Linked DNA regions of Homo sapiens: regions 2, 3 and 4 are each linked to region 1. The links are contacts of gene promoters, found by promoter capture Hi-C in human tissues and cell types (Jung and others, 2019). All regions are on one chromosome and are shown on one strand. Each heading gives the region's core, a stretch centred on a gene start or on the middle of the fragment in contact. The rest is flanking DNA. Distances are from core to core; before and after follow the strand shown. Region 1 holds the start of ANXA3 (annexin A3). Region 2 overlaps MRPL1 (mitochondrial ribosomal protein L1). Region 3 overlaps MRPL1 (mitochondrial ribosomal protein L1). Region 4 has its middle 92 kb from the start of FRAS1.

The links. Contacts are between HindIII fragments. The study calls those that stand out against the background at their distance.
Region 2: a contact is called between a fragment that was not itself captured here and the fragment with the promoter of ANXA3 in region 1, in 1 of the 25 tissues and cell types used here (dorsolateral prefrontal cortex).
Region 3: a fragment that was not itself captured here is called in contact with the fragment with the promoter of ANXA3 in region 1 in 1 of the 25 tissues and cell types used here (heart right ventricle).
Region 4: a contact is called between a fragment that was not itself captured here and the fragment with the promoter of ANXA3 in region 1, in 1 of the 25 tissues and cell types used here (H1 embryonic stem cells).

The regions. Positions count from the first base shown.
Region 1 is chr4:78,549,704-78,553,019 of GRCh38, forward strand. ANXA3 (annexin A3) reads left to right here and starts at 2,067. Exons shown (of 13, transcript NM_005139.3): 1 at 2,067-2,156. RefSeq lists enhancers at 2,432-3,183, 2,487-3,316. The HindIII fragment of the contact is 13,286 bases long and covers 1-2,180 here.
Region 2 is chr4:77,867,354-77,870,669 of GRCh38, forward strand. All of the region lies in intron 1 of MRPL1 (mitochondrial ribosomal protein L1), which reads left to right. Among named protein-coding and RNA genes, the nearest start is that of MRPL1, 6.2 kb to the left of the region's middle. The HindIII fragment of the contact is 3,452 bases long and covers 1-3,244 here.
Region 3 is chr4:77,943,020-77,946,335 of GRCh38, forward strand. All of the region lies in intron 7 of MRPL1 (mitochondrial ribosomal protein L1), which reads left to right. The region is part of intron 1 of LOC102724916 (a long non-coding RNA gene); the gene reads right to left. Among named protein-coding and RNA genes, the nearest start is that of MRPL1, 82 kb to the left of the region's middle. The HindIII fragment of the contact is 6,374 bases long and covers 1-3,316 here.
Region 4 is chr4:77,963,427-77,966,742 of GRCh38, forward strand. It overlaps the pseudogene HMGB1P44. Among named protein-coding and RNA genes, the nearest start is that of FRAS1, 92 kb to the right of the region's middle. The HindIII fragment of the contact is 6,061 bases long and covers 1-3,316 here.

The DNA of each region.
Region 1 (3,316 bases), core at 817-3,316:
AGTTACCATCAGGAAATCAAAGAAGTTAAATCCTGAATGGTTTAAACAATTAAAATAAAGCCTACATGTAAAACATCACCTGTTACTCATTTTCTTCTGGCTATAAATCTAGCCCTATGACTTCCTAGTTGCCTGGAATACAACTCGTAGAACTTACTGAGTCCCTCTGAGCCTGTGTCTGTATCTGCAAAATAGAGGCAATCATACCTAATTTACAGCTAGTTGGTAAGCATGACATAGATCACGTACGTCAAGTGCATTACCCAGTGTCTGGCACAAATAATAATAAATATTTTCCCCCATTTCATGCTAATCTCAGAATTTTTTGAGGTAACATGGGATTTAACAGTTTATTGTGGTGAAGTCTGAATGGGAGTCAGGAATTACTATGCAGAACAGAATGCAGAACACCATCCTATCTTCTCTCTTGCAGAAAGCCCATCACTTCGGATTTGTAGATCTGAGAGGGCTCCCAGGGCACTGGCCTTTTAAGCATGACCACTTCTGCCTTCTCCGTTGTAGCTCCTCTTAAACCAGTGGTTCTCAAACTTTAGGATGCATCAGAATCACTTGATGGCGCAGGGTTTCAGGGAATTTGCATTTCTAATGAGTTTCTAGGTCCCAGGACTCAGCCTTAAGGACCAAGACTGTAATCTCTTCAACTCACACTCAAGCAGCTCCAGCCATGCTTATCCTCTAAAAATCCTCTGTGCTCCACCTGTTCACCCTACCTCCTCTCAACTCCTAGAAACCAGTGATTTTTTTTACTGTCTCCGTAGTGTTGCCTTTTCTGGAATGTCATATAGTTGGAATCATAGTGTGTAGCATTTTCAAATGGGCTTCTTTCTCTTAATAATATGCATTTAAGTTTCTTCCATGTGTTTTTATAGCTTGATAGCTAATTTCTTTTCAGTGCTGAATAAAATTCTATTGTATAGATGTATCACAGTTTATTTATCCATTCACCTACGAATTACATCTTGGTTGCTTCCGACTTTTGATACTTAGGAGTAAAGCTACTATAAACATCCATGTGCAGGTGTTTGTGGAGGTAAGTTTTCAAATCCTTCGGGTGAATACATAAGGGGCCCAGTGATGACTGAGTGCAAGCAATACTTTTTACTTACGTGGTCTCGGATAAATCACTTCACTTTTCTAAGCCTCAGTTTTCTCTTCTGCAAATTGTGATAAAAATAGCACCTCCTAGAGTTCCCTTGAAGATAAAAGAGGTAAGGTATTCAAGCACTTCAATGCCTGATACTCAATACATGGTAACTTTTTCTACATCCTTCAGCACACAACTGCTCATAATTCCCTCATACGAGTAGGGCTTTAACCTTTTAGCCTCGATGATTTGTTTTGCTCTTCCAAATGCCTAGAATGCCCTTCCAGGTTACCGTCTCCCTGAGCCTTTGGTTGGAATCCTCATACCAGAGGGTCAACACGTTTAGTAGAGGAATTACTGAAATAGTTGGGTTCCAAACACTAGCTCTGGCATTTACCTTCTGTGTAAATTGGCTGAAGTTACCCAACGTCTCTGTATCTCAATTTCCTCATCTATAAAATGGGGATAATAGTATCTACCTCATAGAGTTGTTGTCGGAGCCATTTTAATGGCAAAAACCGCAATTACTTTTGCACCAACCTAATAAATCCGCGCATATTCTTAAAGAAGTTAGAACAGTGCCTGGTACAAAGTAAATGCCAGATCAATGTTATTAATGTTAGGTGTCCGCCACCTATGCCACGCAGTGAGTTCCTTAGGTATAGGGACAGTCTAATCTCCGAATCCACACTGCCTAGAACAAAATAAGCATTGCAGTACATTTGAGAAAGTAAAGGTGTAGTGGAAACCGAGAGCGAAATGAGGGCGTAGGGAGAAAAGGGTGGGGAAGCTTAGAGACCGGTGAGGGAGCAGAGCTGGGGCGCCTGTGTACAGGGATAGAGCCCGGCGGCAGCAGGGCGCGGCTTCCCTTTCCCGGGGCCTGGGGCCGCAATCAGGTGGAGTCGAGAGGCCGGAGGAGGGGCAGGAGGAAGGGGTGCGGTCGCGATCCGGACCCGGAGCCAGCGCGGAGCACCTGCGCCCGCGGCTGACACCTTCGCTCGCAGTTTGTTCGCAGTTTACTCGCACACCAGTTTCCCCCACCGCGCTTTGGGTAAGTTCAGCCTCCCGGCGCGTCCCCGCGAGCCTCGCCCACAGCCGCCTGCTGACGGGTGGCTTGGGGAGGTCGCGGCGCCTCGCCCAGTTCCCCCGCGAGTGCAGCTCGACCCTGGGCAGGGCTGGCGGCTGGCGCCCGCGCCCGGCCCCAACCCAGCTGCGTGGGTGGGGAGCTGGAGGGACCTCAGTCCTGCATTTCAGAGTCGAGGAGACTGGGCCCACGGGGGGGAAAGTGCCGTGCCATGGGTGGGTCACCCAGGTCTTGGTGGGGCCCAAGCTGATACTCAGCTGTCCTCGCTCCCTGAAAGCTTCGCTTATTACAGCTAGCAGCGTAAGGGATCCACTTAGCCATCTCGGCCTCCCCAGTCCTAAAGGTCTAGGGGACAGAAAAAAGCTGGGAGTCGGAAGGTTCCTCGGGTCCCCGGCATGGCAGACGGGGCTGGCTCAGAGGTCTGCTCTGTGGACTTGGAATCGCACCCATCCTGTGAGCATCTTCTCCCCCTCACATAGGCAATTTATTTTATTTTACTTATTTTTTTTAGAAGGTAGAAAACAGTGGATTTGCATATTGAGGGTTGGAAGTTCAAGAAGTTTGCTTTTTCCTGAAAAGACTAACCGTTTTCTTTGCAACAGAATCCTATTGACTAGATATGAATCATTCCCTTGGTATTTGAGTCACCAGGTGGAAGATTTGGATACTTGATTGCAGATGACCATATATAGGAAAGTATGCAGGTGCTGGGAGGTTCTGGGTCGCTGGAGGCCCCTCTGGCTACTGATACGAAATTGCATAGCCCAGGCCGAATTCTTTCCAAGGATTTGTGTTCAGCACTGACAGCAAGACCCTGCCCTCCGGGAAAGATACATTTACTATGTTCACCAACATCATTTTTTAAAATGTAACTAATTAAAACGTTACTCCATGAAGATACCACCTTTGGTTTTCACGAAGACGGAAAACTTCAGACTGACCAGAAAGGGAATTTTTAAATGTAAAGAAAACCAGAATCTTGTTCCCAGAACTCTGTGGTTGTGTAGAGAAACCTGTTTAGAAATAACCGTAGAGGAGGAAGTAAAAGGAAATGATGTAATCCCTTTCAGGAAAGGATATATTGAAATTCTGTTTAAGTCATTTGGCCTTCGCTGTGGAGTAATTCT
Region 2 (3,316 bases), core at 269-2,768, 680 kb before region 1:
AGTCCAATTTTTGCTCTCATTTGTTCAAATTTTCTTCATTCAACAAATGTTTATTTAGAGTCTTCACTTGACAAACACTGTGCTAGGTGCTAGGTATACAATGCTGAACAAGCTATATACATTTCCTGCCCATGATGCTTACCATCTATTGAGGAGCAGGAATTAATTGGATAATTCTTTTCTTTTTCTTTTTCTTTTTCTTTTCTTTTCTTTCAAGAGACGGGGTCTCACTATGTTGCCCAAGCTGGTCTTGAACTCCTGGGCTCAAATTATCCTCCCACCTCAGTCTTCTGAAGTGCTGGCATTATAGGCATGAGCGATCAACCCGCCTTGGCTTCCCAGTGTTGGGATTACATGCGTGAACCACTACACCCAGCCTTGGATAGTTATTTCTTTTTTTTTTTTTTTTTTTTTTTTTTTTTAGACGGAGTCTTGCTCTGTCGACCAGGCTAGAGGGCAGTGGCACGATCTCGGCTCACTGCCAGCTCTGCCTTCCGGGTTCACGCCGTTCTCCTGCTTCAGCCTCCCGAGTAGCTGAGACTATAGGCGCCCGCCACCATGCCTGGCTAATTTTTTGTATTTTTAGTAGAGACGGGGTTTCACCGTGTTAGCCAGGATGGTCTTGATCTCCTGACCTCGTGATCCGCCCACCTCAGCCCCCCAAAGTGCTGGGATTACAGACATGAGCCACCGCGCCTGGCCAGTTATTTCTTTTTTTTTTCCTTTTGAGATGGAGTCTCACTCTGTTGCCTAGGCTGGAGTGCAGTGGCACGATCTTGGCCCACTGCAACCTCTGCTTCCCAGCTTCAAGTGATTTTCCTGCTTCAGCCTCCTGAGTAGCTGGGACTACAGGCACGTGTCACCATGCCCAGCTAACTTTTGTGTGTATATTTTGTTTTTTTTTCTGTGATGGACTCTTCCTCTGTTGCCTAGGCTGGAGTGCAGTGGCTCAATCTTGGCTCACTGCAACCTCTGACTCTGGGGTTCAAGCAGTTCCTGCCTCAGCCTCCCGAGTAGCTGGGATTACAGGAGCATGCCACCACACCCGGCTAATTTTTTTTGTATTTTTAGTAGAGACGGGGTTTTACCATGTTGGCCAGGCTGGTCTTGAACTCCTTATCTTGTGATCCACCCTCCTCAACCTCCCAAAGTGCTGGGATTACCGGCATGAGCCACCACGCCCGACCTGGATAATTATTTCTTTAGTTAAAATTGTCCTAAGTGCTGTGAAGGAAAAGTGTAAGATGTTATACAAATGTATATGAGAGACCTAATCTATTCAGGGGAGACTCTTCTGAAGAAATAATGTTAAGTAGAGTCCTTGAAAGATAACTGTATTACTATGAACTAGTGGAGTGGAAAGCAATAGGGGAAAATGTCATAGATGGAAGATTATGAAAATTCTTAGGTGGTAAAGAACAGAGTCAAGTAACTGAAAGAAGATGAGTGTATTTGTAGCATGGTGAACATGAGGGAGAGTGGGGCTAGAGGATGCTCACTGGATAGTTTAGTAGTAGCTCGTGGAGTACCTTGGTAAAAATTTCCTTTGTTCAAAGAGCCAAGTTTAGCCATCCAAGTATTTTAAGGACATGGTGAAATTTTCATTTTAAAATGATCCCTCTTACTAATATAGGTGGAAAAGAAATGGAGAGGGCCAAGTGTAGAAGACAGAACAGTTTAGAGGCTGTGGCAGTAATCCAGGTGGTAGGTGATGGTAGCCTGGACTGTGATGGTTGTAGCAGAAAGGCAAGAATAGATGGATACGATTCCCTAGGGAGAGTGAGGATTATAGAGTCAGGTGAGAAGGCAGTATAGGACTGACCTCAAGGGAACTCTAACCTTTCACTATCAATTAAAAGAGATAAGAAAGGAGAGGGAGTTGTTTCTATCTCATTGCCACGGGGTGGGAGAGATTTTGAGAATGAGTGCTGGATCAGGGAGACTCAGTAGTTCAGGAAGTTCTGAGGGCTATTTTCTCTGAAGTAGCAAGTGAGGTTATATGCTAAGAATAAGGGGAAGAGAAATGTATTAATAAAGGAGATAAAATAATACAGCTAGACAAATTGACTACAAAAGGATTGAAAACATAGATATCATGATCTAACAGTGCTACTTAAATAGTGGTATTTGGTTTCTTTTGGTCTGTAGTGTTTGATTTCTGTTGAAAATTGTAGTTTCTGGTTGTCATGACTGATAGTAGTGGTTTTGCTTGCTTGCTTGCTTTTTGTTGTTTGTTTGTTTGTTTGTTTGTTTGTTTTTGAGACAGAGTTTCGCTCTTGTTGCCCAGGCTGGAGTGCAGTGGCGCGGCTCACTGCAACCTCTGCCATCCAGGTTCAAGCGATTCTTGTGCCTCAGCCTCTCAGGTAGCTGGGATTACAGGCATGCACCAACACACTCAGCTAATTTTTTTTGCGTTTTTAGTAGAGACAGTTTCATCATCTTGGTCAGGCTGGTCTCAAACTCCTGACCTCAGGTGATCCACCCACCTCAGCTTCCCAAAGTGCTGGGATTACAGGTGTGAGCCACCGCACCCAGCCTGTTTTGTTTTTTTGAGACAGGGTTCCTGTCACCCAGTCTGGAGTGGAATAGTGAGATCAGAACTCACTGCAGCCTCAACTTTCCTGGCTCAAGTGATCCTGCCACCTCAAGCAATCCTCCCACCTCAGCTTCCTGAGTAGCTGGGACTACAGCTGTGCACCGTCGCTAATTTTTAAATTTTTTGTAGAGATGGGGTTCCACTCTATTGCCCAGGCTGGGCTCGAGCTCCTGGGCTCAAGGGTTCCTCCTGCCTTGGCCTCCCAAAGTGCTGGGATTACAGACATGAGCCACTGTGACTGGCCTTGATTTTTTAAAATAGCAGATTGCAATTGATATGTTCAAGAGATTTTTTTGTTTGTTTCCCCAAGAGAATTATTATTTTGGGATCTTCCAAGGTTGTTAGGTTCTTGTATAGTACAACTAGAATTGTTTGGAAGTGTTTGCCAAGCTTCGAATGGATAATTGCTTGTTCCTTCATTTATCATACGTGATTTTTCAAAGTGCTGGGATTCCATGCATGAGCCACCACACTCAGCAATAAAATCTTTATAAACTGATATGAAGTGATCTCTCAAATGTATGCATGTACACACACCTTTATGAAAGGCACACATAAAATCTCATCTGCATCTCATGTATATGTGTGTGTATGTTTGTGAAAATAGGCTCTAATACCTTTAGGTGAAAAAGCAAGATGGAGTAGTGATTAGAGTATGCTACCATTTTATAAAAGAGGAGGGAAATATATTGGTACCTATATGTTTATATATGTATATAG
Region 3 (3,316 bases), core at 253-2,752, 610 kb before region 1:
GGATTTGTTTCAAGATTTAGAGCTCCTTTTAGCAGTTCTTGTAGTGCTGGGTTGGTAGTGGCAAATTCTCTCAGCATTTGTTTGTCTGAAAAAGATTGTGTATTTCCTTCATTTATGAAGCTTAGTTTCACTGGATGCAAAATTATTGGCCAATAATTTTTTTTTTAAGGAGGCTGAAGATGGGGCCCTAATCCCTTCTAGCTTGTAGGGTTTCTGTGGAGAAATCTGCTGTTAATCTGATGGGTTTTCCTTTTTAGGTTACCTGGTGCTTTTCCTCACAGCTTTTAAGATCCTTTCCTTCATCTTGGCTTTGGATAACCTGATGACTACGTGTCTAGGCAATGATCTTTTTGTGATAAATTTCCCAGGTGTTCTTTGAGCTGCTATGTATTTAGATCTCTAGCCACGCTGGGAAGTTTTCCTTGATTATTCCCTCAAATATGTTTTTCAAACTTTTAGATTTCTTTTCTTCCTCAGGAACACCAATTATTCTTAGTTTTGGTCATTTAACATAATCCCAACTTTTTGGAGGCTTTGTTTATTTATTTATTTTGATTCTCTTTTCTTTCTCTGTAGATTGAGTTAATTCAAAAATCTTGTCTTCAAGCTCTGAAATTCTTTATTCTGCTTGTTCGATTCTATTACTGAGACTTTACAGTGCATTTTGCATTTCTTTTAAGTGTGTCCTTCATTTCCGGAAGTTTTGATTATTTTTTATTTATGCTATCTGGTTCACTGAACATTTTTCCCTTCATATCTTGTATCACATTTTTTATTTCATTAAGTTGGACTTCACCTTTCTCTGGTGCCTCCTTGATTAGCTTAATAATCGACCTTCTGAATTCTTTTCCTGGCAATTCAGGGATTTCTTCTTGGTTTGGATCCATTGCGATCCATTGCTGATAAGCTAGTGTGATCTTTTAGGGGGATGTTTAAGAACTTTGGTTTTGTTATATTATCACAATTGTTTTTCTGATTTCTTATTTGGGCAGACTACATCAGAGGGAAGTTCTGAGGCTCAAGGGCTGCTGTTCAGATTCTTTTGTCCCACCAGGTGTTCCACTGATGTAGTGCTCCCCTCCTTCCCCTAGGGATGGGGATTCCTGAGAGCCAAACTGTAGTGATTGTTATTTCTCTTCTGGATCTGGCCACCCAGCAGTTACCAGGCTCCAGGCTGGTACTGGGGCATGTCTGCACAGAGTACTATGATGTGAACTGTCTTCAGGTCTCACAGCCATAGATAGCAGCACAGTTTTTCAGCTGTCTCTGGGGCCTGTCGCAGCAATCCACTTCCTTCAAAGGGTCTGTGGGCTCTCCTGATCCACCTTTGTCTCACATTACCTTATGCTGGTCCCTCTGCCTAGAAGATCCTCTTTGTCCTTCAAAATTCTCCATCCTTTAAGACTCAGCTTAGATACTACCTTTTTTCGTGATGAGTAAAGCCTTCCGTGTCAATTACTTCTTCCTCTGTGCCCTTGTAGCACTTCGTTCATATAAAGTGGTATTTCTTATGTTGTGTTTTAGTGTCTAGATTGTAATCTCAAGGGCGAGGTTTGTATCTTATTCGTCTTCCTGTTCCTGGTTCCATGTGTTGCTTGACAGAGTGAGGGTTAAGTAAATGTTGCTAAGTTGTATGGTATTAACATCTAAAAATTAGGAAGGCACTAAAGGATTCATTAGGCAGAGAGAAAAATTCTTATTTTTCCATCTTAAATGTATATTCTTTTAGTGTTTCACTTAGTTTCCCTTTTTCTCCCCTTAGTATACAACACGCTCACTTGTGTTTCTCAGACAACTGATACTTCATTTTCCTTATATAAAGATCACGAACTTGTAATAGCTGTGTCCAGAGTCATAAGCTAGTAAGGTGGTGGAAGTGGGGTTTGTCTGCCTTAAGTGCTCAGACACGTAGCTACTTGGCCACTCCTTACCATGTGTGTGCTCATGAATAAGTTACAGAGTTTTCTGAGTCTCAGTTTATAAGTGTAAATAAAGGATAATAATAGCACCTACCTCATAAGGTTCTTGGGAGAAATGAATAAGAATATCTATGTGAACACTCAGAGTTTGGCCCAAAGTAAGTACCCAATAAACAGAGCTGCACCATCAATTATTATTATTATTATTATTATTATTATTATTATTATTATTACTACTACTACTACTTTATGTTATGTAGGAGACATACAGATAACCTTTCTTTTCTTGGTTTAGACTGTTAGGAGTCATGGAAATTAAGAGTTTTGGCTCATCTTCAAAAGCTGTCTGCCAGGCCACACTTTATATAGTCTTAGAATATTACATTTGGAAGAGATTTTGGAGGACAACTGGTCTAACAAGTGCTTATCCAAAGCAGCAGTCCTCTCTTCAGTTTTCAGTCAAAGGTGATTAGTCATCTAGAGACTATCAGAACAGTTATAGTTAATAGAAGCTGCCACTTTAGAAGGAACATGTGATTGTTTAAAAATCATGTATGTGTACTTTGCTTTTTTTTTTTAAGTTCTGTCTTCTGTAAGATTGTAAAAATCCTTTATTCACATTGTAATCCTTTATCGGGGGAACCTGCCCCCAATATTTCATCGTAAGTTCTTTCTATTTTCCATAAGTGTCGGCCGGCTGAGAAATAAAGAGTATAAAGAGAGGAATTTTACAGCTGGGTCTCTGGGGGTGATATCACATATCGCTAGGACCGTGATGCCCACCTGAGCCACAAAACCAGCAGGTTTTTATTGAGGACTTCAAAAGGGGAGGGGGTGTACGAACAGGGAGTAGGTCACAAAGATCACATGCTTCAAAGGGCAAAAAGGAGAACAAAGATCACATGCTTCTGAGGCCAATAAAGATCACAAGGCAAAGGGCAAAGCAAAGATCACAAGGCAAAGGGGAAAATCAAAAACTCCTGATAAGGGTCCATGTTCAGCTGTGCACGTATTGTCTTGATAAACATCTTAAACAACATAAAACAGGTTTCGAGAGCAGAGAACTAGTCTGACCTCAAATTCACCAGGGTGGGGTTTTTTCCCCCACCCTAATAAGACTGAGGGTGCTGCAGGAGACCAGGGCGTATTTCAGTCCTTATCTCAACCGCGTAAGACAGACACTCCCAGAGCGGCCGTTTATAGACCTCCCCCCAGGAATGCAATTCTTTTCCTAGGGTCTTAATATTTAAAAGAATTGAGCGATATTGTTCCTACTTGCACGTCCATTTATAGGCTCTCTGCAAGAAGAAAAATATGGCTCTATTCTGCCTGACCCCACAGGCAGTCAGACCTCATGGCTCTCTTCCCTTGTTCCCTAAAATCGCTGTTATTCTGTT
Region 4 (3,316 bases), core at 353-2,852, 590 kb before region 1:
TCCCCAAAGAAATATTGAAGTGACTTTACCAAAAAAAGGGGCTACTGGGTGTTGGGCAGGCAAAACCAACAGATGCCACTATACTAGGTCACTACCTTTGATGACTATTTGGGAGGAATTAGTAGCAGTGATAGGAGGAGGCAACAAAACTTAGACCCATTAATTACTTGAATTTTTATTAAATGTCTTCTCCTACAGTTCTATGAAATCACTAACTACATTGTATTGAATTCATAATACTAACTTCATCACCCTCCAAGTGTTTTTACATACATAGCAAATATTCTTTGGATGCAAAAAAAATTACTAATTGGTTTTTTAGAGGGGAGAGATGCCAATTTCATTTTATTAAACATAAATACAAACATATGTAATTACACATGAACAGATTTCTATGGTAAAAATATTCAATTGATTGCAGTACACTGAGCTCCATAGAGAGAGTGCTGGGGCAAGTGAGAGCCAGATGGGCACTGGGCAACTCTGTGCCTTGTTGAAGAAAGATAACTAAACATGGGTAAAGTAGATCCTAAGAAACCAAGAGGCAAAATGTCATCATATGTGTTCTTTGTGCCATCTTGTCAGGAGGAGCACAAGAAGGAGCACCCAGATGCCTCAGTCAGCTCCTCAGAGTTTTCTGAGAAGTGCTGAGAGGTGAAAGACTACTTCTGCTAAAGCAAAAGGAAAATTGGAAGACATGACAAAGGTAGGTAAAGCCCATTATGAAAGAGAAATGAAAACTTATATCCCTCCTAAAGGGGAGACAAAAAAGAAGTTCAAGGATCCCAATACACTCAAGAGGCCTTCTTCAGCCTTTTTTCTTGTTCTGTTCTGAGTATCACCCAAAAATCAAAGAACATCCTGGCCTAAACATTGGTGATGTTGCAAAGATGCTGGGAGAGATGTGGAATGGCACTGCTGCAGATGACTAGCAGCCTTATACAAAGAACGCTGCGAAGCTCAAGGAAAAATGTGAAAAAGATACTGCTGCATACTGAGCTAAAGGAAAGCCAGATGCAGCAAAAAGGGAGTTGTCAAGGCTGAAAAAAGCAAGAAAGAGAAGAAAGAAGAGGACAAGAAGATGATGAAGAAGATGTTGATGAATAAGTTAATGTTAGCACATTTTTTTCTTGTCTATAAAGAATTTAACCTCCCTGTACACAATTCACTCCTTTCAAACAAAAAAATTGAAATGTAAGTTTGTGTAAGATTTGTTTTTAAACTGTACAGTGTCTTTTTTTATATAGTTAACACACTACCAAATGTGTCTTTAGATAGCCCTGTCCTGGTGGTAATTTCAGTAGGCACTAACCTTGCTTGGTACAGTATGGTGGTATAGCTTGATGAATTTTCCCAAAATAAACATGTACCTAGCACACAGATCAAGAAACAGGATAATTTCAGCACCCTAGAAACCCCTTAGAAACCACTCTCATTCAAGGTAATCACTATTACCACTTCCAAGGCTATATATTTGTTTTGCCTGATTTTGAAAATTACCTTAAATTGAATAATTATCATATGTGATTTGGGGGAGGTCTGGGTTCAGTCATTCAACATTATATTTATGACATTCATCCAGTGTGTAGTTGTAGTTTGTTCGTTCTCATTGTTGTATAATATTCCATTGCTTAAATGTATCACAAATATCCATTCTACTGTTGGTGGACATGTGGATTTTTACAGTTTGGGGTATTACAAATAACGTTGATATGAACATTTTTGTATATTTCTTCTTGTGAAGTTTTAGGGCTATTACAATGATGCTACTTATTAACATTCTTGTCCACTTCTGGTGAAAAGAATATATATGTATTCATAGGTATATATACAACAGAAATGCTTATATATACACATTAGTGTGTGTACACAAATATATGTATTTGTATGTATGTATGAGGTTGGTACAAAAGTAATTGCTGTTTTTGCCATTAAAAACAGCAATTACTTTTGTACCAAGTTTATACGCACATATTTATATCTTGTCCACGTTTGGTGAACATATATATATATATATGAGGGCGATGAACATATGTATAGATAAGATGAACATATATACATGAGGAAAATGAGTATATATATAGTTTGGTGAACATATATATATATTCACCAACAGAAGTGCACAAGATATATACATAAACATTCCTGTTGTATATATACCTAAGCGTGAACTTGCTGGATAGTAACATGCTCCATTACAATGCTCAACACTTTTCCTAAGTAGTTGTACCAATATACATTCCCAAAAGTGTGGAAGATTTCCAACTTCTCCATATTCTTGCCAATACTTGGTTCATTATTTTTTCACTTTAATCATTTTGCTAAATGTGACATTGTCCAGTAATTTTTGAGGGATTTAAAAATCCTGTGAGTGGAGGAGACAGAAGTTAGAATATCACTCTACATTGATTAAAGTTGTAGTATGGTGATCTAGAGTTTTATGGGATTCATAAAATAACTTCTTAAAAATAAAAAGACTTAGAGATGGAAGAAATCTGTTATTTTCTGACTCCCAACAAGTTACTGCCTTCCTGGGAGAGGGGTTAATTCTGTTTGTATTATGCAGTGTAATGAAGAATCCTGTCAGGTTGGTTAGGATACCCAGCTGATTTGAACCCTACCTCCTCTTTATATTTAAATCCCAGTATTTGGTAAAGTCAAGTCTATAAGGTTTTAAGATGTTATTTCTGATACATTATGCAATTTAAATATTACTGCTCTTACCTAGAATAGAGTCTGCAAATTTATGGCACAGATTCTTACCATTCCCCATCCCCATCAGGCACATGACAGATGATGTGAATCACAGAAGACTTTCCCACTGATTTCTATGAGGTCTCAGGGTTGTTTTTTTCCTCACTATACTGCTCCACACAATCACACTGTTGGTTAGAAGTGTCATGGAAGATTCAAACACTTTTGCCTCCTGTACCTCAAGGTACAAGGTAATTTGCTGAATCTTACAATCTTCCCAAGTATTATTGTTGGTTGTCCCTGTAGGAGACTGATTGAAATTTAGGAGGCCGAGGTGGGTGGATCACCTGAGGTTGGAAGTTTAAGACCAGCCTGACCAACATGGAGAAACCCCATCTCTACTAAAAATACAAAATTAGCCAGGCATGGTGGCACATGCCTGTAATCCCAGCTACTTGGGAGGCTGAGGCAAGAGGCAAGAGAACTGCTTGAACCTGGGAGGCAAGAGAATTGCTTGAACCTGGGAGGCAGAGCCGAGATCTCACCATTGTACTCCAGCCTGGACAATAAGAGCAAAACTCCATCTCAAGAAAAAAAAAAAAAGCTATAATTTAAATCTATT